5 separate regions of the Homo sapiens genome follow, and all the other regions are linked to region 4. The links are contacts of gene promoters, found by promoter capture Hi-C in blood cells and fetal thymus (Javierre and others, 2016). All regions are on one chromosome and are shown on one strand. Each heading gives the region's core, a stretch centred on a gene start or on the middle of the fragment in contact. The rest is flanking DNA. Distances are from core to core; before and after follow the strand shown.

Region 1 (4,902 bases), core at 331-2,830, 770 kb after region 4:
CTTGTCTCATTCTCAGACAGTCCCTACTGAACAAAGTAATTCTTGTTCTGAAAGTTTTTCTTGGGTCATTTTTGTAAAGATGTTCTCTGATAATAGAGAGTTTTTGAGACTACTCCAAATCCCATAGATTCAAATGGTGTGTACGTAGAAAAGCCTCAATTGAAACATGGCCTCTAGTTTAAACCATGTTAATCTTGTCTTTCTCCCACTATTCTCTCTCTCTCTTCCCCTTGACCCAATGGACTAAAAATAATAAATAATAAAGGTGTCCTTTCTCCCTTCTTGCTTTTGCTTCAACTCTCCCTCTCCCTAAGATATTCTCCATTTCCATCTGGGAAAAAAACATATATTCATTACTTCCTTTCAAGAGTACTACTATAAATATAGCGAACCACATACGGAAAACTTTCTGCGCAACAGGGACTGTGCTAAACACTTTACATACATCATTTCAGTCACAATTAAGCCTCCTAACAACCCTCCTGAGGTCGTTTCTATAGATTTAAAGAGACTATGTAATTTGCCTGAGATCCCACAGACAGTAAATGTCAAGGTCGGGATTTGAACCCAGACTCCCAAGACCATGCTCTTAACCACCCTACTCTCAACCACCCTACTACCCAATCTACTGCCTAGATTAATATTCTTTTCCTTTAAGAAGCTGCTGTTAGGCTGGGTGCAGTGGCTCATGCCTGTAATCCCAGCACTTTAGGAGCTGAGGCAGGTGGATTACCTGAGGTCAGGAGTTTGAGACTAGCCTGACCAACATAGTGAAACCCCATCTCTACTAAAAATGCAAAAAAAAAAAAAAAAAATTAGCCAGGCATGGTGGCGAGCGCCTGTAATCCCAGCTACTCGGGAGGCTGAGGCAGGAGAATTGCTTGAACCTGGGAGGTGGAGGTTGCAGTGAGCCAAGATTATGCCACTGCACTCCAGCCTGGGCGACAGAGTGAGGCTCGGTCTCAAAAAATAAAAATAAAAAATAAAAAAATAAAAAAAAGCTGCTGTTAATCTTTTCCAGTCCCTGGCCACTGGGAGTTCTCTCCCCTTAACACCAGTATTAATTTACAAGAGCTGAAATATACCTATACCTACTCTACTCCTCCCCTGTCCCAGGCGTGCCCTGACAGGAGTAAGTTTCATTCATGCCAGGCTCACCCTTTCTGGCAGACAAGCCTGCATCAATCTTTTCGTAAGATGCAATTACTACTAATATTGATTCTTTTGTAATTTTAAATATTTGCCAAAAAGATTTCTATCACAGTGTTGTAACAGTGATTACTGCAGAATGTGGTCAATAGTAGAGTTTTCTCAAGCGCTCTGCACTACAAGTACTCAATAAAAACTGAGAGTGCAGGCTTCTTGCCAGACCTCACCCAGCCCTATTAAGGGGACAAATCTATGTCTTCTCTTTCCCTCCACTCCACCGAGACAGCAACTTTTCAAAATGTATTCCCCTCACTTGGCTTGTTTTTAATCTGTATGACTCTCTACTTTCTATATAAGACAGTCTTACCACTTACCTCTTGAGCTCTGAGAAGCTGACTTCCTTGGCCAACTGTTCCTCTGCCTGAAAACCCTAAATGCTTTCCCTGTTACAATCCTTTATAATACTTGAATTTGAACGCTTTATGACAGCAGGGTCAAATAAATAAGATAACTTGGGTTCAAAGTCTGTTTTTCTTTATGGAGTCTTAGAGAAGATAGTAATTGGGAAAGACATCTTCTTAAGATCTAAGTTTCTATGTCTACCTCGGTTACTAGGTGGGGCCGGATATTACTAACAGGGATGTGTTGTTCCAAGAAAGCTTGAACTTGTGCAAAAATCTGTAGCGCATCTCACTGAATATTGTCATATTTAAGTAAGATGGCTGCGTTTTGATCATCTAGCCTGGGGATTGTGAAGGGACGAGTCCAAAGAGAAGTTTGACTTTAACAGAGGTCAAAACATTGGAAGATTCTACACAACTTAAATAATGCTGGAAAAGTCTTAGTTACCACTAGTAACCCAAGCCCAGTGCATAAGCTGTACCAAGCCAGGCATGGCAGGGAGCCGTTTTTTTGTTGTTGTTGTTTGTTTTGTTTTTTGAGGCAGGGTTTCACTCTGTCACCCAGATTGGAATGCAATGGCACAATTGTGGCTGACTGAACCTCTGCTCCCAGCCTCCCAAGGAGCTAGGACTACTGGCGTGAGTCACCATGCCCAGCTAAACTTTGTTAATATATATATTTTTGGTAGAGATGAAATTTCGCCATGTTTCCTAGGCTGGTCTCTAACTCCCGGCCTTAAGCAATCTGCCCACCTTGGCCTAGGGAACAGTTTTATCCTCTTGAGGCTCTCACCTGATTGGGAGATCCTTGCATTACACTATGTTTATGGTATTGTTAACGATGCAAATTTTATCTGCCAAGTACTATTGTTCCCATTTACACAAAAATATAACAGAAGAATATTTATAGTTATCTACACATTTTAACACACTGCTGAAGCACACCAGCAATCTGCCTCTTACTAGCTATGTAACTTTGAAAAGTTATTTAACCTCCATGAGCCTCAGGATCTTCATCAATACAATGGAAATAGTAATAGTACCCTCCCTACGGAGTCACTGTGAGGATTAAATGAAATGAAGCATGTGAATCTGCCGCACAGTAAGCTCTTGGTAAACAGTAGCTCTTATTACTATTATTATTAATATAGGCTGAGCAGGGCATCCTAAATCAACACAACCTCACTATAGCATTGTTCAAGCAAAAATCAGAGCTAAGAGCAGCTCCTGTTGGCTGGGTTGCAAGCACCACCCAAACAGGTTTTGAGTTTGCCTCTCCAGGGATCCAAGATTGTCATTTTAAAATGAATTTAGCAATGGAGTGATGTTTTGGTTCTTGGTGCCTCCAAAATAGACCCTGAGACAGAGCTTTGAGTGCCAATAGTTTATTTAAAGGTGATCTCGGCCGGGCACGGTGAGTGGCTCACTCCCTTAATCCCAGCACTTTGGGAGGCCGAGGAGGGTGGATCATTTGAGGTCAGGAGTTCGAGACCAGCCTGGCCAATGTGATGAAACCCCGTCTCTACTAAAAATAGAAAAATTAGCCAGGCATGGTGGCGGGCGCCTGTAATCCCAGCTACTTGGGAGGCTGAGGTGGAAGAATCCCTTGAGGCTGGGAGGTGGAGGTTGTGTTGAGCCAAGATTGGACCACTGCATTCCAATCTGGGCGAGAGAGTGAGACCCTTCCTCAAAAAAAAAAAAAAAAAAAAGTGATCTCAGGAAGCATAGTAAGGAAGTAAGATAGGGAAGGGAGGAAACTAGTAAAGAATGTGTTAAAGATTACTACCGTGAGCAACTATATCCCTGGAGCTTTGGACAAGTTGTATTCTGTGCAGCATACCTCAGAATCAACTACTGATAGGGAAGGAAGCAACTTCTCTCCATCTCCGGCTGAGGGACACTCTCAAGGTGTTGACTCTCTGGCACTTTCAGCCTGCCCTGTGAGGGCAAAGTGTACTCTCTCAAGCTGGCCAACATGTCCAGGAAAAGATGCTCAGGAAGTCACTGGCTATATGGGAACTCTTTGCAGGTAACTTCTGGGTAGGCCAAGGATGTGTGAGTAGAGCACCACCAGCAACTTCTACAATTGGATATTAGGTGATATTAGGAAATAATGATTAATTATTATTAGTTGTGATCATGGTATTGCAGTTATGTAGAGAATGTTCTAATTCTCAAGGGATGCCTGCTGAAATATTTATGGGTCAAGTGTCATGATAATTGCAACTACCTTTCAAATGATTCAGCAAGAAAAGTAAACACATAAACACACAGCAAATATAGCAAATGTTAACATTTATTCAACTAAATAGGGGTCTATAGATCTTCATTGTACTATTGTTTCAACTTTTCTGTATGACATTTTTGTCATCAGAATGTTGGGGAAATGTATTCAGCAGATATTTATTGAGTATCTACCATGTGCTAAGTATTCTAAGTATTGAGGATGCCAGTTGCAGCCAAGCCAATATGGTGGCTTTGTCATGAATTAGGGAAAATATGGCTTCTCTAGTCACTCTACTGCCATCTGTGGAAAATTGTTATAATAACTCTACAAAGCTATGATGTCTATAAGATGAATGATGCTTCCAGCTTAATGCTTCCACCACTTAATGCTTCCATAACATTAAGTGGTGATACATAGATGAATAAAACAAGCTCTGCGCTTTTGAAGGTCTTACATCGTAGAGCAGAACGTTAATGATGATCAGGAGCCATGCAGAGTGGCCTCAGGTGCTGAGCAGGGACTTCAGATAAGAAAAATGGTATAATGGCGCCCCTGCTGGAGAGTCAAAGAATTTTGTCATATGACTCGTGCAAGGTCATATAAATCCCTGGAACAGTCCTCTTTCCTAGAACTGACAGAGGGGAGAAATCATTTTTCTGTAAGTAGTTAAGCCCAGTAGTTAACCATTAAGCCTAAGTAGTTTGGCTGTTTGGAGTATTTACAGAGTCCAATACTCCACAGCTTCCACAGTGGCTTAGACCAAGAGGGAAAGAGGAAAAAGCACCCTCGAGTCTGAACATTCCTGGGAATAAAGACCAATCTGGCAGGGTGCAGTGGCTCATGCCTCTAATCTCAACACTTTGAAAGCTGAGGCGGGTGGATTGCTTGAGCCCAGGAGTTCGAGATCAGCCTGGGCAGCATGACGAAACTTCATCTCTACAAAAAATACAAAAAAAAAATTACAAAAATTAGCCAGGCATAGTGGCATGTAGTCCCAGCTACTTGGGAGGCTGAGGTGGGAAGATGGATTGAGCCCAGGAGGTTAAGGCTGCAGTGAGCGTGATCGCACCACTGCAGTCCAGCCTGGGTGAAAGAGCAAGACCCTGTCTCAAAAAAATAAAAAAT
Region 2 (4,629 bases), core at 618-3,117, 860 kb before region 4:
GTCACTTCCTACTGCACCTGCTTTTCAGCTCCAACACTACCAATTCCTCACCCTCTGGTTTTACTCAATCTGGACTCCACAGCCTCCCTTATCCACCCTGGACCCTAAAGTCATGCCGCTGGGACCTCAGCCAGGGTGAGGAACCAAAACTCCTCTGCCTTGCTGTTTCAGGAGCCACCATGAAAGAGACACACATGGCCAGGCGCGGTGGCTCATGCCTGTAATCCCAGTACTTTGGGAGGCCGAGGTGGGCGGATCACGAGGTCAGGAGTTCAAGACCAGCCTGACCAACATGGTGAAACCCCGTCTCTACTAAAAATAAAAAAAAATAAAAAAAATAGCTGGGCGTGGTGGCGCGCGCCTGTAATCCCAGCTACTCAGGAGGCTGAGGCAGGAGAATTGTTTGAACCCGGGAGGTGGAGTTTGCAGTGAGCCGATATTGCGCCACTGCACTCCAGCCTGGGCGACAGAGCGAGATTCCATCTCAAAAAAAAAAAAAAAAAAAAAAAGCACACATGCAGGGTCAGAGCCTGTTTACTCTCCACTCACTAGCTCCCCCAGAGCTCGGACACCCATCAGCTCTGTTTGTGAAGGAGACGAGGGGAGGAAGGACAAAGGGGGAGACGAATTTAGTAACTCTCTTCAGAGCTGAGAAAAGCAATCTGCTCTTTAGTTCCAGAGGACAGGAGGAGACCTCTGACCAGCAGCAGTCCAGAGTTCCTGCAGCAGGAGTGACTGACAACACACACAATGAATGAGGAGGGTGATAGGGTGAAAGAAAGTGGGAGGCTTATGGCGTCTTTCCCCGTGAGGCGTTAATCGGCGCACAAAGGCCTAACTCAAAACTCACAAGTTATGCTCATCTGTACAGAATCCTCCCCGTCCTGCGGGGCCGAGGAGCTCTCCTCGACCTCGAGGCACTGGGGGTGGGCACCAGAGCAGCCGAAAGGAGTAGGGTGGGAAGGGAGGGAAGGAGTAGGGCGGGAAGGGAGGGAAGAAACTAGGAGAGGAAGGAGGGAAGAGGAGGAAGCAAGGGAGGGGCAGTGCGCCCGCGTCTCCTTGGAAATGCCTCTCTGGCCTCGCCGCCGCGGAGGTAATTGTGATGCCACGGGTGGAACCCTCAGTCTCCTTGGTCCACCCTCAGGGTCGATGGAACCGCCCGCTCCCGCCCCGGCGTCCGGGTGGGCGCTGGTCCACGGGCTCCAGCCAAGGCCGGCGCTTCAAGGGCAGCGGCCTGCGCCCGGTGCCACCCAGTCCGATAGCCGAGCGTTCCAGCTCTGGCTGGAACCAGACTTCCCGCCCATCCCGCGGGCGACCCAGCAGGGCCTCAGGACCCCAGTCCTCAATCATTGGCCCGCGGCTCGACGCGAGCCCGCCCCCGGCCCTAGCTCCGCCCCGGCCCTAGCTCCGCCCCGGCCCAGCACTGGGCCCCGCCTCTCTCGTTGGTTTGCCCGTCTCCCTCGTCGGTTTGCCGGCTTCCCGCGTGCGCCGCTCGGGGTCTGCGAGCCGGGCCGCGCCCTCTGCCCAGCCCCTGCCCCGCCCCTCTTACCGCGGCATCTGCTCTCATCCCACGAGCGGGCCTTGGGCTCGGTCTTTTCCTTAGTCCATCTTTCAATTGTGAGCGTCGTCCTGACCCACATCGCTCTCCGCCCAGGTCTTCGTCTCTACAGGACTCTTGCGTGAAGTCCAACCCTGAGCCTCAGCCCGGCCGAGCCCTCGGCCCAGCCGTGAACTCCAGTCTCGGCTTCGCCCCCGCCTAGCCCCTAACCCCGCCTCATGCTGGCGCAGCCCCCGCCGGCCTCCCCAGCCCGGCTCCAGGCTGCGTAGTCTTCCCAGCTGGGTCTCAGCGTCAGCCGCGTTCTTCATCCGGGGCCTCCGGCGCCTCCCAGGCCCCTCTTTATCTCAGACCTTAACCTTACAGGCCCAGCTCTCACCACCCATCTCTGGTTCCAGCTTGCAGTCCAAACCCCAGATTTTCACCCTGCCTCCAGATCGTAGCCCCAATTCTTAGTGTTACAACGAGCCTTGCCCCCAGCCCCATTCTTAGCCCCGCCCCGGCCATTCTCTAAACCGCACACTCCCGTCCCGCTCCCCGCCCCACCGACCCTTGGGAACCCAGCCGCAGCCCCGCCTCTGCCCGCTGGCGAGAGAGCGAACCCCATCTCTACAAAAAATACAAAAATTAGCTAGTTTAGTGGTGCGCACTTGTAGTCCCAGCTACTCGGGAGGCTGAGATGGGAGGATCCCCTGAGCCCAGGGAGGTCCTGGCGTCGCCATTTCCCCTCCACCTTCCGGGCTTCGAGGTCCCTCCGCCTCTGGTGGAGCCCGGGCTTCCCCTTTCTCCGCCCACAGGCCTCTCCGAAGACCTAACTCCGGGCTGAGGACCTGATGTCGGCTCCCAGCCCCTGCGCCACCCCGCAGCGTTCCCGCCCCTGGCCCCCAGGGGACACCCTATTCTAGAGACAATACTGCCCAATAGAGAGTCGTAAGCTTATCCTGATAGACAATCTGGAGAACAGGGCAGGCTGCATTCATAGGAACCTCATCCCAGTGACACCCCTCACGCCCTCAGGTACAACATACACACTCTGCGCATGCATATATCACACACACACAGAATATACTCACCACACACAGACTAATACAACATGCACACGGAACACAGAACTCCCACACCCGGTGCAGCACAAACACCACACCTGGACTGTGGTGCTGGCTTCACACACATCTGTTAACAGGCAAGGCAAGGGTGAGGAGCCCAGTGCTGCGAGGGAACAGAAATGGAAAAAACAATCACAGGAGAGTGTGAAAAGAAGTTATGGCCATATCGACGACATTCCATGCACCACACCCCTCCATTTCTCTTGGCACCAGCTTCCAAAGCCAGGATGAAGAGGAGGAGAAAGGATGGGGTCCACACCTTGTTTTCTCCACCATCATCCAGGGGCTCTGCTGCTGCTACTATTGCTCTGCCTGATCCCCACCTTCACTTTCCTCCAGACCCAAGTCCGGAGTGGGTAGGGCTGCTGCCCAGACCCTCCTTCCCGTGGTAGCTCTAGAGAGTCTAGGAACTGCGAGGGAGGGGAAGCCAGGAGAAGGGAAGTGTGCAGAAAAACCAACCATCCTGGTGAGAATGGAACCAGGAATGGAACAGACAGAGCACTTGGCAACTGGGAGCCAGAATCTGCCTTCTAACTTGGACACCCCCTTAGCCTCCCAGGATGACACGAGGCCATAAGTCCTCCTTTGTTGACCCAGATGTCTGAGGTGCTTCCAGCTACTCTGGAACTCTGGGTTAGATGTCAACAGGGAGCCAGGGTCTTGGTCACCTTTCTTTCTTATAAAAGTTAATGGCATAAACAACCAAAAAAACAAACAAAAAAAAAAAAGAAAGAAAAGTTAATGGTTATAACTCCTGAGTTCAAGCAATTCTCCTGCCTCATCCTCCCAAGTAGCTGGAGTTACAGGCATGCACCACCACGCCCGGCTAATTTTTGTATTTTATTTTATTTATTTTTTTTTATGAGACAGAGTCTCGCTCTGTCACCCAGGCTGGAGTGCAGTGGTGCCATCTCGGCTCACTGCAAGCTCCGCCTGCCAGGTTCAGGCCATTCTCCTGCCTCAGCCTCCCAAGTAGCTGGGACTACAGGCACCAGCCACCACGCCTGGCTAATTTTTTGCATTTTTAGTTTCACCATGTTAGCCAGGATGGTCTCTATCTCCTGACCTCGTGATCCGCCCGCCTCAGCCTCCCAAAGTGCTGGGATTACAGGCATGAGCCACCGCGCCCGGCCTAATTTTTGGATTTTAATGGTGACGCGGGTTTCACCATGTTGGCCAGGCTGGTCTCGAACTCCTGAATCCAAGTGATCTGCCTGCCTTGGCCTCCCAAAGTGCTGAGATTACAGGCACGAGCCACCGCACCCTGCCTGGAAAAGTACTTCTTAAAGGGAAGGCAAGAAAAGGGTGAAAAAAAGAAAAAGATTCTCCAGTGGTGAAAATTTGGGTATAAGCACCAAGTAGGAGGACACGTGTGGGGAAAGGATCAGGGGAAAGGGCTCTCAAAGCCAGCCATTCAGACTTCACCCAGTGAGGGCCCAGTGCAGCCCCCAAACTGATGTTTCAGCTCCCAGCCTACCTGAACCTGCCCAGGGGCCAGGGATGGCCAGCACAGCATCCCCAGGGGACTCTAGTGCCAAAATGGCCACACAGTCATGCCCATTCCACATCCATCATCCCCAACAAAGAACTCCAGCCCCAAAGTGCTCGTAACAAAGAAATTTTAATGCATAAGGCACAGTGAGAGGCTGGAATCATTAAGCATCCTCAAACACAAAGGGCCCAGCAGGCTGAGCAAAAGAACAGAGACACTCTCCCTCACTACCACTGGGCGCCCTGGACAGTCCCCTGAGGAGTAGGGGGCATCCAGTCTTTGGCACGGTGCCTGGGGGCAGGAAGTGACTAGCATGATCCCAGCTACCCCTCTGTGGGAATACTGCCACCAAGAGGCAGCTCTTTGGTCTGGATAAAGTCAGTGCAAATGTCCAGGGGTCAAGCTCTGGAGGAATGAGGGTGGCACAGTGCCCTAGGGCTGGGCAGTCTCTGAACAGTCTCCTCAGCCCTCATGGG
Region 3 (4,971 bases), core at 2,096-4,595, 810 kb after region 4:
CTGGGATTACAGGCTTGAGCCACCGAGGGAGGTGACTCTTCATTATAATGGCTTTTGTGTGTTCCAAAAACAGGTTTTTGTTTTTTGTTTTTTTAAGCTTACTATATAGAAACAGTTTTATTACAGAATTTAAGCACACAGACTCTGAAGTCACACTCCCCAGGTTTGAGTCTTGGATCTGTGGCTTGCCAGCTGTGTGACCTCATGTCTCCTCTCTTTATCTTTGAAATGGGAATGATAATAGCACCAGCCTCATAGGACTGTTGTGAAGATGAAATGAGTCAACCAATGTAAAGGGTTTTGCACAGTGCCTGTTATGTAACTCTTGTCCAGCAGACACATCCAGTCCTGTGTTGTGTCTATGTTCTGTGTCCCTTCCTAGATTCTGTCCTCTGGGAGGGGAGAGATCCCCTTCATTCATTTTCCAATCCTCCTGTACCTGGCACAACAGACCTTTCGCCAGATTGGGTGCTCCACAAACATTTGTCAAATTGAATTTGTAAATCTGCAGGTGTTTGTGCTGGACAATGAGACACTTACAAGTTCCCGGTCTATGCTATGCTTTAATTACCTACGAATCTTGTGAAGAAAATGGTTCTTGAATCAGGCTGGTCATCTAAAAGCTTTTGCCCTGTTTTTAAAAAATCCACGTCAATTCTTTGTCATTTCTTGGTGCTAGAAACATTTCAAATCTCTTTGAGCTAAATGAGGTGATGGCTATCCAGAATGTCCTGGTTTGATCATAATATATTGTATGCATGTATCAAAATATCAAATGTATCCCATAAATATGTACAATTATCATGTATCAAATACAAAAATTAAAAAAAAAAATCCAAGTCATTGCCACTCTGCTTCTGTGAACAGGAAGCCTTTTTACCTTCAAGCCTTTCCCAAGTCCCTTCCATTTGTAAGGCCACACCTTTTCCTTGGGGAAAGAGGAAAGAAACACCTGTCATAAGGTTCAAGACTTCTCAGACACAATTGGAGGTATTCAGCTGTAGGTAAACACAAACCTGTAGGTAAACACAAAAGTGACTGAGGTCCAGAGCTTTGGGTTTCACTTATAACCATAAGCAACTGTGTACCTGCTAAGGAAGAAGGCTGCAGACCTGAAAGAGGCCCACGGAAGGCCTGGGGATTTCTGAGAGGACACCGGCTCAAGTTACATTCCCATATTATTTCACCACCCTCATGCTTGTTTATTTACATTTCAGGCTGCCTCTCTAGGCGAGGCTGCAGGAGTGAAGGGGCTGGAAGAGGTTTCAAAGGAGAGTGAACGTGGTAGAAAAGGAAATATTTGATTAGAAGTTAACATGTCCTCTGGGGCTTCTTTGACTTGGATTACTGTAAAAGTGCATGGTGTAATAGTTGAGCACTCCCGGGAGGTGGTGGGCGGTCTCTCTGTACAGAGTTGTGGCTTTGTTTCTGATGAGTTGCAGCTGCTGTGCATAATGTAGACTAGATCAAATGGGGCATGGAGAAGAGCCATTCACAGGACCGGAGTGACGGTGCTCGCTCTGATGGCAGAATACTAAATTAATCATCTTCACCTAAACCTGTGCTTTCTCCTGGCCTGTACCTCAGTGAATACCTGCAAGTTGCTTAGGCTGTAACTTGAAGTCAGCCTACAATCCTCTTTGTCTCCAGATCCTGTCCACTTTCCTTTCCGAAGGTCTTTCAGATCCATTTCCTTCTTTCCACCTCCACTGGCACTGCCCTCATTCAGAGTCTCATCATGTCTTCCTGGATTGCAGCTTCCTTCCAGGTCTCTCAGCCTCAAGTCTTAGGCCTCCCATTCAATTTTCCGTGTTACTGTCAGAGGAATTTTTCTAAACTAGCTTAAAACCCGTCTGTGGTTCTCCATGGCCTTCCAGATCAAATGTGCTCCCTGAAGACTGGCCTGTGAGCCCCTTCACACCAGTAATCCTGACCCTGCATGCAATTCCCAGAACACAAGGCATTTGTTCTCAAATCCTGCGGCTTTCTTTGCTTGCTTCTCCTCCTGCCTGGGATCCTTCCCATCCTCCATGGTTTCTCTCCTCCTTTCCTCCTCCTCAAGTTCAGATATTTCCCTCACCTGTACCCCCTCTGTTGTAGCATTTATCACAAACTACACTGAATCTCTTGACTGGGCAGAAGAATGAATTGTTTCCCAGCATCTAGCTTTGACATAAAAGTTGCTCAATAAATACTTGACGAATGAATGAACTCTATTAAAGTAGGGTTCAGTCATAGTTCAGGGAAGGGGCCCTGAAATAGCTGGCTCTGAAAGAAGGTAATGCCGGTTATTGCGATTATGTTGTTAGATGGGTAGAATTTCGCATTCGATTAAGGGATAGTTTTGGGTTTCTTCAAGCTAAAGAAACTAAAGCCTATAAAAGGTGATTTAAAAGACCTCTTCTCTAGACTTGATGAAACGCTGTAATTGCCATCTTTGGCTGACACTGAGGAGTTCAGGAATGCCAAGCAAGTGTTTCCAGAAATGTCAAACCTGCTGTTTTAAAATATGTCATTCCAGGGCACAGTTAAATATACAACTTGCTCCGATGAGGTGGGAGAAGTGGGCCGGTGAGCTGTGAAATGAAATCTGCCTAATGAGGGTCGAGGCCAGCACACACAGGGACCTATTTGCAGTAAAACAACGTGGGGTGACGCCTAAGAAATAGACAACATTAACACAAAGGGAGCCTACTACGTAGCACATTTCCGCTAGGCATAAAAGAGACACCTTTCCAGAAAGCAACTCTAAAAATGAATGCACCGCCTAGTGAGGTGCGAGCCTTCCTCCCCACGAGGCGTCCCGTGCAACCGCACGCGGACAGCGGGGCTCCAGCGGAGGCGGGGTGGATGCGGAGACAAGGCGCCTAGGAGACTGGGCTAAGGCTTTGAGTGTCCGAACGAAGATTCTTTCGAACCTATTGATTTTTTCTAGTCTTATGATTCTTTCGAACCTTTTGATTCTTTCCATTCTCGGTTCTAAGCATTAAAGCGCAGCTGAGAAAGGCAGCAACAAAGATGGGAAGAGAACTAGCAGGAGTTCTCAGAGAAAAATGGGTGATAATTTAGGGGAGAAGCCATAAAGAAGAGACTAAGCGAGAAGCGGAGCACACGCAGAAGACGAAACAAGGAGGAGGAGAAGAGAAGAAGAACCTTGGCGAAGGAAGAGAGTGACCAAACTCGTCCCGGACGGGAGGAGGGCAGGCCCGCCCAGAGGGAATCGGCTGCTTTAAGGGAAGCCCCGCCCCCTGGTGGTGACGCTCCACCAGGCCCGTCCGCGATTGGCTGCGGCCAGAGGGCGGGATGGGGTTGCTAGGCGAGGAGGGGATCCGGCGGGCCCCCGCCGCCCGGAGCGCTGAGCCGCGGGAGCGGAGCCGGGGTTAGCGGCGCTGCTGGAAGATGGCGAGCGGCCGGGACGAGCGGCCGCCTTGGCGGCTAGGGCGGCTCCTGTTGCTCATGTGCCTGCTGCTGCTGGGGAGCTCGGCCCGGGCGGCTCACATCAAGAAGGCGGAGGCGACTACCACAACTACGAGCGCGGGCGCCGAGGCGGCCGAGGGCCAGTTCGACCGCTACTACCACGAAGAGGAGTTGGAGTCGGCGCTGAGGGAGGCGGCGGCCGCGGGCCTCCCCGGCCTGGCCCGCCTCTTTAGCATCGGCCGCTCGGTGGAAGGCCGGCCGCTGTGGGTGCTTCGCCTCACCGCCGGCCTGGGGTCGCTAATCCCTGAGGGCGACGCGGGGCCTGACGCTGCCGGGCCCGACGCTGCGGGGCCGCTGCTGCCCGGCCGGCCCCAGGTGAAGCTGGTGGGCAACATGCATGGCGACGAGACCGTGTCGCGCCAGGTGTTGATCTACTTGGCCCGCGAGCTGGCGGCCGGCTACCGCCGCGGGGACCCGCGCCTGGTCCGCCTGCTCAACACCACCGACGTGTACCTGCTGCCCAGCCTCAACCCCGATGGCTTCGAGCGTGCCCGCGAGGGCGACTGTGGCTTCGGCGACGGCGGCCCGTCCGGGGCCAGCGGCCGCGACAATAGTCGCGGCCGCGACCTCAACCGAAGCTTTCCCGACCAGTTTAGCACCGGCGAACCCCCCGCCCTGGACGAGGTGCCCGAGGTGCGCGCCCTCATCGAGTGGATCCGCAGGAACAAGTGAGTGTTGCCTGCCCCCTCCCCGTCCGTGTGAGCCTCCAAGGGCCGAGGCTGGTTCCGGCACCCAGTAGGCGCTCAGACAATGCTGGCATAAGGGGTGGCGGTGGTGAAGGTGAAGGGAGACACCCTGTAACGGGGACAGGGCCCAGGCCGCGTAGCCTCCCGTCCTGCTAATCATCAAAGAATTGCCTCCTAGAGGCTGTCATTTGTTCAAGGGATGGCTGGAGGGGACACTCCTTTCTGACATTTCTGGTCCCTATTCTTACAGGGGCATAGAATATGAGCGAGAAGAGATCTTAAGGATAACCTAGGTCAGCTCACACATTTTATAGATAAGCTGTCAATGTTGTTATCTTATATCAAAAGTGCCTAATGTTATAGGCGCTGTGCTAATTTTTTCTGTGACTGCAGTATCTCACTTTATTTTGGCCACAACCTGATGTCATAGACACCATCAGTTTTGCATACGGGGAAATTGAGGGTCAGATTGGTTAACTGATTTACATAGGAGTGTGGCTGGGACTTAGAATTAGGCAATCTGATTCCCGATAGTCCTCTTAGCCACGGAGGGACACTGGAGCCCAAAAATGGCAGATGATATTCCCAGGATCTTCCCCTTGCCTATTTGACAGAAGCTGATTTTTCTCCAATTTTTACCTCTGACTCAGCTTAAGAAGATATGGACTTAGCTGGAGAACTTGCACAGATCTGTGAGCCGCTTCATTTTAGACTCTGAAGGGTTTGTGATGTCATTTGTGCACCTTATTAGCCTGGGCAGAATGGCTAATGGTCACACTTCTAATACACACTTTAAGTGTTATTAAGC
Region 4 (4,988 bases), core at 1,031-3,530:
CAGGGCGAGCAAGCAAAGGCCGAGCACGTTGCGGGTGAGGCGACCCCACGCATTGGGGATCACCAGAAGCACCGCAGGAAGGCCCCCGGCGCTGGTGATCCGGCGGCCCCGAACACAAGGTCCTACCACCCAGTCCAGGGCCACTAGCCCATCGTCCGCCAACTGCAGGTACTCCCGGGCCAGCTCAGGCCCAGGCGCTACGGGCAGGACGAAGTGGCAGAGGGTCTGCAGGTGGGGCCCGGAGAACCAGGAGCGCGGGCCGGCCTCCAGCGCCTCTGAGCGCCGCAGGGCGCGCAGCAGGCACTGGGCCAGGGCCGACGGCTTGCAAACAAGGCTGCACCCTCCCGGCAGTGGCTCGCGCCCGTCGCTGAACTGGTCCGCCGGGCCTCCGCCGTCCGCCTCCTCCCCGTCGTCTCGGTCTTGGGCCCCCGGCAGGGTCCTCTCTCCGACGGCGCGCCCCCAGGGTCCCCGGAGCCGCGGGCCGAGCAGGCCGAGAAGGGCGAGCACGGCCAAGATGAGCGCGAGGGCGGCGCCCCACGGCGGCATGGCGAAGCTGGAGAGCCCCGGCGGGCAGCGGGCGGCGGGGCCGTCTACTCGGCGAGCTCCGCGCTTTGCCCGCGGCTCCGCCCGCCGGCGGCGGCTGCCCAGGGCCCTCCCGCGCGGGCGCGCTCTGGATTGGCCGTGGCCGGGCAGAGGCAGCCAGTTCGGGCCCGGCTGCCCTCGCCCGCCCCCCACCCCCGCCCCGGCCCTTTGTACAGCAATTGCAACAAGTGGGAGCAGAGGGTGAGAGGAGCCGGGGCCACCAGGGAGGGAGGGCGCGCCGGCAGCCGGAAGGGAGTGGGGAGGGCACGAGCCGGGGAGAGCGGTGTTGGCCATGGAGACGTGGGGAGACTGGAGGCCGAGGCTTGGGGACCCGACTGTCATCAGGGTCTTCCGCCAGACCCTGGGCGCTGCGCCCTCAGAGGCCGATGAAAAGAAGCAGAAGGGAGAGGTGAGTAAGTCGCAGCTCCGGGCGCCGGCTCCCGGGACCCCGTGGGGCGGCGGCCGCGCGCGCGCTCTGCCCTCGGGCGGCCCTGCTCTCCCCCGCCCGGCCCCGCAACCCCGCAATAACTTGGCTGGGCGGGGTCCGGCACTGGGCTAGAGAGGTCGAGCGCGGCGTCTTGAGCCGCTGGCGGGAGGCTGCTGCTTCCCCGCCTGCATCAGTGCGGGTCCCGTGGACTCCTCGCCCCCGTCCCCGCGAGCTCGGGGCTCCACATCAAGGAAATCCTCAGCCCGGGAGTGGCTTCCCCAGAAACAGCAGCCCCAAGCCTCCGAGAGTCAGTCGGAGAAAAGGACACACTCAGGCGCCCTGCGACAGGGATGCCCGTCCGACCTACAAGGAACGCCTCGTAAACCGGGGTGCATGGGAGACCACGGAAATAACACGTTCTCGCTGTTTCCAAGCTTTGGGATAGGCATCTCGACCCTCGCTCTCTACCCACGTTTCCCCCCCAAATCCTGGAGAGGGAACCAGAACCAGCGCCCCGCTGCGGGGCGGGCCGGCCAGCGCACCTCCTGGGGGTGAGGCCTGTGGCGTCCCCATCTCGCGGCGACCAATCTCTTTCTAGACGCGCGCCTGCCACCGCTGGGCGACGGCGGAGGTGGGGAAGACAGCAGCCTCTCGGCTAGCTCCGGCCTCCCGGGGCTTCTGGGTTTGGAGAGTTTGGGGAGCGGAGACACCTCCCGAGGCTCCTCCGCGTTGGACCCTATTTGCGAGGGCGGGAGCGGGGTGGGCCGACGGCGAAGCTCCAGAGGTGGGACCCTCTCCCTTCAGCAGCTCTTCCTGACTTCATGATTCTGCCCCTCTTCTCATTGCAGGTCACACCGACAAATCTGAAGCGGGTTTGCCAGGGGAGTGTACCCGTCTCCCCAGCCTGGGCCACCCGGTCCACAGGGATTCCATTTCCGGCCTTACACTCCGCTCCACGATCTCATCCAGGCGCTGCAGCTGTGCAGCTGCTCTACAGACTGCAGGGACCTGCTGAGACGAATCCCCGGACGAGGAAAGGGGCCCCCCGCCTGCCCTACTGAGCCTTGCGCGCTGACCCGGTTCCTACACTTAACTTTTCCGGCTTCGGGTTTAAGACGCGTGCGCGCACACTCCGCTGCTGTGGGCGGGCATTGGGGCGGGGCGATACCGGGGGCCCACTGTCTGGGGAGGGGCGCGCGCGAGCCCAGGGCCAACGGACGCGCGGGCGGCGCGGGCGGCGCGGGGGCGCTGGGGCTGGAGGGGCGGGGCGCGCGCGCTCCCTCGCTGGCGGAGCGGCTGGGCGGCGGGCCGGGCCCGGGGCCGCTTGGAATGGCGCCTCCTCCGCCTTCGCCCCAACTGCTTCTCCTGGCAGCCCTCGCGAGGCTCCTGGGTCCCAGCGAGGTAAGGTGACCCGCTCCTGGGAAGGCCTCGGCCCGCGAGCTCAAAGCGCTTTGCCAAAAGTTCGTCCTGGAAGGAGTGGCGCGCCGAGGGGGACGCGGAGTTCTTCCGCTGGCGGGCTGGGCCTGGGGAGAGAGAGGGCAGGGCCTCGCCGCGTCCAGCGCCCCAACTCTTCGCTTTGGACCCACAGGTGATGGCTGGACCGGCGGAGGAGGCGGGAGCCCATTGTCCCGAGAGCCTGTGGCCTCTGCCTCCGCAGGTAGGAGCCCTGGAGGGCCCAGGGAGAGAGGGATGTGAAAGGCTAGCCCAGTCCCGCTCTGTTCTCGCCGCACCCTCCACAGTCACCATCTGAGGACCTCTGCCGGTTCCTCAGTCCTCAGTAGCCAACTTCTCCATCCCAGCCTGGCGCTTGGGGCCTGCCGTCCCCTCCCCACCACACACACACGGAGTCCCCCAACTGCCCTAAGCTCTGTTCTTTCCCCATGTATAGGTGTCACCAAGAGTGACCTACACACGAGTGAGCCCAGGGCAGGTGAGTACAAGCAGGGGCCCACCACCCTTGGTGTCCACGCCTGGAGACAGGCGCTCCTAGCAGGCTTCGCTGCCTGTTCTGCTGATCGGCCCCATTCCTTACCACTTCCCTCAGGCAGAGGCAGGGTTCTAGTTCTCTGCCCCACCTCCAAGCCCAGGACAGATCAGCCCCAGGACAGATGGCTCAAAGACAGTGAGCCATAGGCCTGTCATCTGCAATGCTGTGTCAGGATGCTGTTGGGTAGCTGGCTCTGTGGACAAGTGGCTGTGAGTGGAACTCTCTCTGAGAGTAGCTGGAAAAAACCCAGGCTCCAGCTCCCTGAGGAGACAGCGGGAAGTCTCCTGACTTTGTGGGCCCCAGCTTTCTGTAGGAGAGGGTATTAATTCTGTCTCTACCTGTGAGCAGCGAGGGAGGGTATGTGCCAGCACCGTGTACAGTACAGAGCTGCATCGTGCAAGGAGTGTGCCTCCAGTTGCCAGGCTCCACACTGCGGGCTCAGCTTGCGTGGTAGCATCTCCATCTTCATCGCCAGCTCCTCTGAATTTTCCTTTGAAATACTTATTATTATTATTATTTGAAATGGAATCTCACTCTGTTGCCCAGGCTGGAGTGCAGTGGCACTCACTGCAACCTCTGCCTCCAGGTTCAAGCAATTCTTATGCCACAGCCTCCCGAGCAGCTGGGATTACAGGCGTGTGCCACCTAGCTTAGCTAATTTTGTATTTTTAGTAGAGACGAGGTTTCACCATGTTGCCCACGCTGGTCTTGAGCTCCTGACCTCAAGTGATCTGCCTGCCTCAGCCTCCCAAGTGCTGGGATTACAGGTGTGAGCCACCATGCCTGGCCTGAAATACCTAACTTAAATTGGCCAGGCATGGTGGCTCACACCTGTAATCCCAGTACTTTAGGAGGCTGAGGCGGGTGGAACACCTGAGGTCAGGAGTTCAAGACCAGCTTGGCCAACATGGTGAAACCCTGTCTCTACTAAAAATACAAAAATTAGCTGGGCGTGGTGGCACACCCCTGTAATCCCAGCTACTTGGGAGGCTGAGGCAGGAGAATTGCTTGAGCCCAGGAGGCAGAGGTTGCAGTGAGCCGAGACCATGCCACTGCACTCCAGCCTGGCGACAGAGCGAGACTGTCTCAAAAAAAAAAAAAAATTCTCTGTAATAGCTCCAGGCCAAGAGTTGTTGCCTCACGCCACCTATCAGATTCCTTTCCTCAAACAGCCCTTTCATGAAGTCATTCCTCTGTTCACAAACTGTCAATGGCTCCTTATTTCCCACCTTATCGTGGCCATATTCTCCGGCCTGGCTTTTCAGGCCTTACTTAAGTAAGCTTCGTCTGACCTCTCCACATCCTTGGTTCCTCTCCAGTTGTGTCGGGCTGTTTGCCACACAAATGAGTGCCAGCCTCGCCCTTACCACAGCCCCTTTGCTCCTGTTTATTCTCCTCCACACCTGGCCTATCCTGACTCGGAGAGTGCAGCTCCCTGCCCTCCTGCCATACTCCCCCAGCCATCTTCCCAGTCCCAGCTGGCATCAGCTCCCCCTGAGACACTGCCCGATGGCATCAGCCTTTATTCCTCCCCTCCTCCTCTGAATCTATCTCTGATAATTTAACAACTAATCACTAAGTTTTATTAGTTTGCTGTTTTATTTGCATTAGTTGTTTCCCTGAGTTTCTCACACACTCCTTGCAAGCAGAGTCCAGGAGTTCTTTGGCATCTCCCACAGCATCTAGCACAGCACTGAGCACCAAGTCAACTCAATCAAAGAATAATGAATGATTGATGGAGTATTTCCATCCTGAGATTGTGCACCTGCTGCCTGCCTGCCCTGTATTTGGATGCTCTTGGGAGACTGTATAGATTGGATCGATGGTCTTCATTTGGGGGTTGCTTATGGCTTGGATTGTGGACCTGTAGAGCCATCGTTACACCTGCAGGGAAATATGGCTAGAGTGTGGTCTGAGTCTGGCAGGATTATCCAGGCATGCTGTGAGCTTTGAAGGGTGGCACTTGATGGAGAGGAAGGGTGAAAGGAACAC
Region 5 (5,128 bases), core at 1,875-4,374, 920 kb before region 4:
ACACAGGTCCAGGGCCAGTGAAAGCTCCACTAGGCAGGTGTCCTCCTGTGGGGATGATAAGCCTCTAAGGTGTATGTAAGAAAGTTTGGAAGTTTTAGGTCAAAATGTGGTGATCTGGAACACTGGGTACTGACTTGAGGGAACCCCCTAAGGTCAAAGAACCTAGGATGTAAGCCCTAAGCTCCTTCACACTTTACGCCCAGGAGGAAATGAGGCATCTGAATGATCATGGCATACTTACCAGCTGACCACTCTTTAGAACTTTGCTGTTGATCTTACATAAGCTCACCTCACAGATTAGCCTGGGAAAGGAAAAAAATTAAGAGCACTTGGCCTTGCCGGGCGCGGTGGCTCACGCCTGTAACCCCAGCACTTTGGGAGGCCAAGGTGGGAGGATCATGAGGTCAGGAGATCAAGACCATCCTGACTAACACGGTGAAACCTCATCTCTACTAAAAATACAAAAAATTAGCCAGGCGCGGTGGCGGCCGCCTGTAGTCCCAGCTACTCGGGAGGCTGAGGCAGGAGAATGGTCTGAACCCAGGAGGCGGAGCTTGCAGTGAGCCAAGACCGCACCACTGCACTCCAGCCTAGGCAACAGAGCAAGACTCTGTCTCAAAAAAAAAATTTAAAAAAAAGAGAACTTGGTCCCTTTCCTCACCACTTACCTCCAGTCAAGCTCTGGTGGCTAGAAGGGACAAGGCAATTGGAAATGTCTAATCTTAGCATCTCCTCCAACTGCACAGAATGAGAACTTAACACCTTGATAAGGAGGCCCTGAAGCAACTCTGAGGCAAGAATAGGACGGCTAGATCCTCTGCTCCCCAGTGCTTACCTTTTCCCATCACTATCCAAAAGAAATCTGCTTCTACTGATCTGAATATGCCATAAGGACTCAGAGGTATCCACCTTGAGAACCATGATGTTTATAGCATCTACATGAATGGAGAATAGCTGGAAGGAAGAAGCAAGGATGAACAATAATTAATGTTAAGGAACTGCCCTTCCTTTCCAGATGAGAAAGAGGGGCAGCTCTTAGCATTATGCCCTAAAAACAGAAAAATCTACCCATAACTCCAAAGCCAACCATGCCAAAGTACAGTCCAGGATAGCAGGAGAAGTTGTCTCACTTGGCAGAAGATCTTCAATAAGGATGGGCTGAAGGACAGTTCCTTTTGATCCACCCCAGCGCTCTGGGAGAATGGGGCAGACAGGTCAGAAACTTTCTGTAGGTCCGTTCTGATACGCACTTCTCCAAAGCACAATGCCACATAGTGTCTGCCCAGAAGAGAAATCTCACTGCCACCAGGTCCATCCCTCCCATAGCAGTCTATTCCCCACCCTCACATTCACTTTCTCATCCTTCCTAGAAATATAGCTCAAATCACAGAGATTAGTTTCATAGCAGTTATCAATATCTTCCTCACAACACAATGGCACCCAGGCTAACAGGAAGACTTCAGCAACAACCTCCCTTCCTCCTTGGATTGTGATGCCTCTGCAGAAGAGTGTCACTCTGCAAACACCAACTCCAAAGTACTCTTCTAGGGGAGAAGTGAGAATATAGGGTACTCACGGAAGATCATGGCTAAGGAGTTTGCTGGAAATCCACAGGTTATCAATTTCCTAAAACAGTGAGGGAGAAAGCTCTGTGTGCTAGCTGCTAAATAAGCCACGAGCAGCTTGACAAGCCAGGAAATGTTCTGGATTATTAGAATTTCTCTTTCATAGCCATGTTGCCTTGAATCCCATCTTAAATTAGAACAGTAAAATCTTCGATTTCCTGTTATCTTTCTTCTGTATCTTTGTTATGTGCCCTGGACACTCTGTGTCCTACAAACATTTTTAACTGAACAACTTGCAGCGTTCTCCAACTAGCTCTAAGATCATCTTGGCAAAGAAATGGCAAGGCTGGGATTAACTAGAAAAGCCACCAGGATTTCTATTTTTAAAAAAAGGAAATTAAGAGTTTAAATTCAATTGGATCAACCCTACACACATATCCAGAGTTTCCCAGAACTCACCACTGTTTGCTGGTGTTGCTGAAACTTAAGACTGACATTCTGGATCCAAAAAAAGCGGAAGGAGCCAATCTTTAGCTCCGCCTGCAGCTTCCGCTGACACCACTTGGTGGCCAACCGGACCACAAGCCACCTGCAGAAAAATTCCTGTTAATTCATAGGACCTTTTTCCAATGATGGTTTCCCTCACCCCTTGCTGGTCTTTCAAAGCCTTGCAAAAGGTCGTTCCTGAAACTGGATCTGAGCAACTCTCCTTTCTTCCAAAGCACCACTCTGTCATATACATTCAGCCACGCTGATCAAGATCCTAGCTCCCGACTGACCCCTCCACCCAGATGAAACCAGAAACTGCACCCTCTAAGTTGAAGACAAAAACAAAATCCCTCAAATTGTTATGAATCCCAGAGGCAGAGAGAGAAGACCCCAGCAAGAGTCAAAGCGGAGGCGGCTCTGTCACATGTGCCATCACACTCCCCAGAGGGTCTGTCTGTCTCCTGCTCCCACCCTCCAGACAGGTATCCACGAGAAGGCACTTTGAGGTCAGACCCGGCAGCTCGAATGCTGTTCTCCCCAGACCGATGCTGCAGGTGCCCATCGCGCTTGGCGAAAGGGACATGCAGGGGTGGGTGGAGGGGGAAAGGGAAGCCACTGAACCAGGCCCCTTCCTCACACTCCTATTCAGTTCCTGGCCTCAGCATTTCCTCAGACCCCGCCCGCTTCCTCAGTCTCCCCAACTCGCAGCCCATCCCTGGGAGCTCGGGCCACGCGCCTCCTCACGATCCCTCCCCTCGCCGCGCGCCCCCTCCCTCCACCCTACCCACTCTGCCTCACGCGCCTCAGTAAGGCGCGCGCCCCCTCCTCAGTCTTTCTTCCTCCTCTCCGCCCCCTCCCTCCCGCCGCCGCCGCCGCCGCCGGCGCGGCCGGGAACCCTCACCGGCCTAGAAAGAGGGCGCTAAGCGCAACTAGCAGCAAGACCAACAGCGCGGAGAAGAACAGAGGCATTTAGGTCCGGGTCCGGCCCGGCTTGGCCCCGGCCCCCGCCATGCCGGGCCCCGACGCCGGATCCGCGCAGCACCGCCGCGGGCCGACCAGCTGCGCGCGCAGGAGCAACGCTGAGCGAGGACGCGCTGGTGCGCACACGAGCCCCGCCTTCCGCAGCCCGCCAGCCAACCAACGGCCTCCCACCCCAGTCCCGCCCTGTCCTACGACGCTGCAGGGCCGACGGGCTGCGTGCGCGAGGAGCGGGCGTGGTTCCGGGAGGAGGGCGAGGGGGAGCGGACCAAGAGCTGAAACACGCCCCGGGCGCACACCACGGTGCCCGGAACCGCGGGGCTCGGGGACCCGCGGGGGTCGGAGTCCGGGCCCACTACCTGGGCTGGCGGTGGACCTGGCTGACTCATTTCGGTCCGGGGAGCTCACTTTGAGGGGAGTTGGAGTCCGCCTAGCCACTTAGGCCTGGACTCAGGGTTCTGCGGAAGTTACACCCCTGGTCAGACGTGGTAGCACTCCCATCTTATTCAAGATCCTGTTTGAAAATTACTGAGGCAGAAACTAGGAGGTAATTAAAAGGCCTCAAAAATCTCGCCTCATTCCATCCACAGAGGAAACTAATGAGGTTTTGTTTTTTTTTTCTTTGAGACAAGGACTCGCTACGTTGCCCAGTCTGGTCTCGAACTCCTGCAGGCTCAAGGGATCCTCCTGCCTCAGCCTCCTGAGTAGCTTGGACTAAAGACGCGTGTCACGGTTCCTGGCCAATGAGTTTTTACTTCATTTACTGTTTGAACACTGTTCTGGTCCATCTACTTATGGCACGAACTGGGCCCTGATGGAGGAGAGGAGGAGATACTGCAGAAGTAGTGAATATTGTTCTTGCCCTTTAGCAAAAAATAGTTTATCTGGGAAGCAAACATAATTACATAAAGTAGACAATACATAGTCAGTTTTGCCTGCTTCCTTCTGTGTAGTTTATCTGGGAAGCAAACATAATTACATAAAATAGACAATACATAGTTTTGCCTGCTTCCTTCTCTGTAAAATGAGAGAACAGGACAAAGGTCCCTCAGCGTTACTGTGCTAAGGATCAGTATCTGAATGATGATCTACTGATACAGCACAAGCTAAGGAAATCCTGACGGTTTCAAAATAAGTATTATGGAGGAGGTCATGTCTCTTTTCATACCCCTTCGCTCCCACGTCCTAATCTCCATATATATCCTTCAAGATTTTACTCAGAGCCTCTCTTTTTGGCTCCCTCAGATAAAACACCATTTCATCTTTCACCTGTGTGTTGCCCGAAGTTGCTTTCACTCCTCTGATTGTTTCCTCCCTTATCTATTCCTCTCTTCAGTGATTTCACATCTCCCCAAGAGCTCCAGCGCTGCTGTTTCAAGGTCATACTTACCTCTCAAGCACTGTATTTGCGTCATCTTCCTCGTCATCTGCAGCCTTCCCCCAGGGTATGTCCTCCGAATGCTCTGGGAAGGCCCAATTCACTGAAAACCTCTGTCCAAGTCAAGGAGGGGTGCCGTGCAACACGTATCCCTACTCTGGTTCATCTTATCCAATCTGTTTATTGAACCAAGATTCCTGTCACTTCCTTCCTTCTCCCTTGACTATTACCGGCCCTACTCCCAGCCATCTCATAGCCTAAAATGTTGATTTTATGATTTGTCTATTTCTTTCTGGAGAGATCTTAAGGGATCAACACAAGTGAAGTGGAATAAAGGCAGGGAGTCGGGGGTGGGGGGTGGTTGAGGCAACAGTGGGGCTCAACTAATTCATGGCCTCCATTTATTGAGACCACAAGCCCTTGTAAAAGAGACCAAGTCTTTTAACGTCACGGGCCATGTTTGGCACAGAAATGGTGTCTCTAAATGTTCAACATTAACAAAACAAATAGAAAAAAAAAGAACAAAACCCGGAAGTTTCTAAAAATAAAAAAAGCCTGCTAGTCACTGAAATTCCAGCAGATGGCAGCCATCTCCGTTCACCAATACCATGATTGGAAGCTACAGGAGCAAATTTTCTGCAATTGACACAGGAAAGGAGGAAATCAGGTAGGCAGAGGACAAAAGTAGTTTTCTATCCACCTTTTTAGAGAGATATAT

What was found. The method cuts DNA at HindIII sites, captures the fragments that hold promoters and counts their contacts. A CHiCAGO score of 5 or more calls a contact.
Region 1: a contact is called between the fragment with the promoter of TMIGD1 here and the fragment with the promoter of TP53I13 in region 4, in 9 of 17 cell types (naive CD8 T cells, neutrophils, naive CD4 T cells and 6 more). The highest score is 9.6, in naive CD8 T cells.
Region 2: the fragment with the promoter of PROCA1 here is called in contact with the fragment with the promoter of TP53I13 in region 4 in 1 of 17 cell types (total CD4 T cells); the score reaches 6.1 in total CD4 T cells.
Region 3: a contact is called between the fragment with the promoter of CPD here and the fragment with the promoter of TP53I13 in region 4, in 5 of 17 cell types (erythroblasts, non-activated CD4 T cells, M0 macrophages and 2 more). The highest score is 8.7, in erythroblasts.
Region 5: the fragment with the promoter of BLTP2 here is called in contact with the fragment with the promoter of TP53I13 in region 4 in 2 of 17 cell types (naive CD8 T cells and non-activated CD4 T cells); the score reaches 12.4 in naive CD8 T cells.

What each region holds. Positions count from the first base shown.
Region 1 is chr17:30,332,477-30,337,378 of GRCh38, forward strand. TMIGD1 (transmembrane and immunoglobulin domain containing 1) reads right to left here and starts at 1,581. Exons shown (of 7, transcript NM_206832.3): 1 at 1,524-1,581. The HindIII fragment of the contact is 5,890 bases long and covers 1-1,806 here.
Region 2 is chr17:28,710,021-28,714,649 of GRCh38, forward strand. It overlaps PROCA1 (protein interacting with cyclin A1), which reads right to left and starts at 1,868. Exons shown (of 5, transcript NM_001366301.1): 1 at 1,550-1,868. The coding sequence starts at 1,640. It overlaps RAB34 (RAB34, member RAS oncogene family), which reads right to left. Exons shown (of 10, transcript NM_031934.6): 10 at 4,264-4,629. The coding sequence ends at 4,623. RefSeq lists enhancers at 533-1,308, 1,309-2,084, 2,643-2,722 and a silencer at 1,103-1,602. The HindIII fragment of the contact is 5,904 bases long and covers 1-2,488 here.
Region 3 is chr17:30,375,582-30,380,552 of GRCh38, forward strand. CPD (carboxypeptidase D) reads left to right here and starts at 3,346. Exons shown (of 21, transcript NM_001304.5): 1 at 3,346-4,145. The coding sequence starts at 3,400. RefSeq lists enhancers at 1,072-1,361, 1,612-1,661, 2,932-3,101, 3,247-4,174 and silencers at 3,152-3,391, 3,692-3,821. The HindIII fragment of the contact is 3,432 bases long and covers 622-4,053 here.
Region 4 is chr17:29,566,421-29,571,408 of GRCh38, forward strand. It overlaps TP53I13 (tumor protein p53 inducible protein 13), which reads left to right and starts at 2,281. Exons shown (of 7, transcript NM_138349.4): 1 at 2,281-2,410; 2 at 2,598-2,666; 3 at 2,898-2,939. The coding sequence starts at 2,339. ABHD15 (abhydrolase domain containing 15) reads right to left here and starts at 617. Exons shown (of 2, transcript NM_198147.3): 1 at 1-617. The coding sequence starts at 546. RefSeq lists silencers at 188-807, 898-1,157, 2,158-2,517 and enhancers at 1,688-1,737, 2,821-3,321. The HindIII fragment of the contact is 2,834 bases long and covers 1,442-4,275 here.
Region 5 is chr17:28,642,034-28,647,161 of GRCh38, forward strand. BLTP2 (bridge-like lipid transfer protein family member 2) reads right to left here and starts at 3,125. Exons shown (of 39, transcript NM_014680.5): 1 at 2,956-3,125; 2 at 2,025-2,154; 3 at 1,577-1,626; 4 at 1,131-1,278; 5 at 836-954; 6 at 242-302; 7 at 1-45. The coding sequence starts at 3,023. RefSeq lists silencers at 2,922-3,261, 3,282-3,511. The HindIII fragment of the contact is 8,883 bases long and covers 1-5,128 here.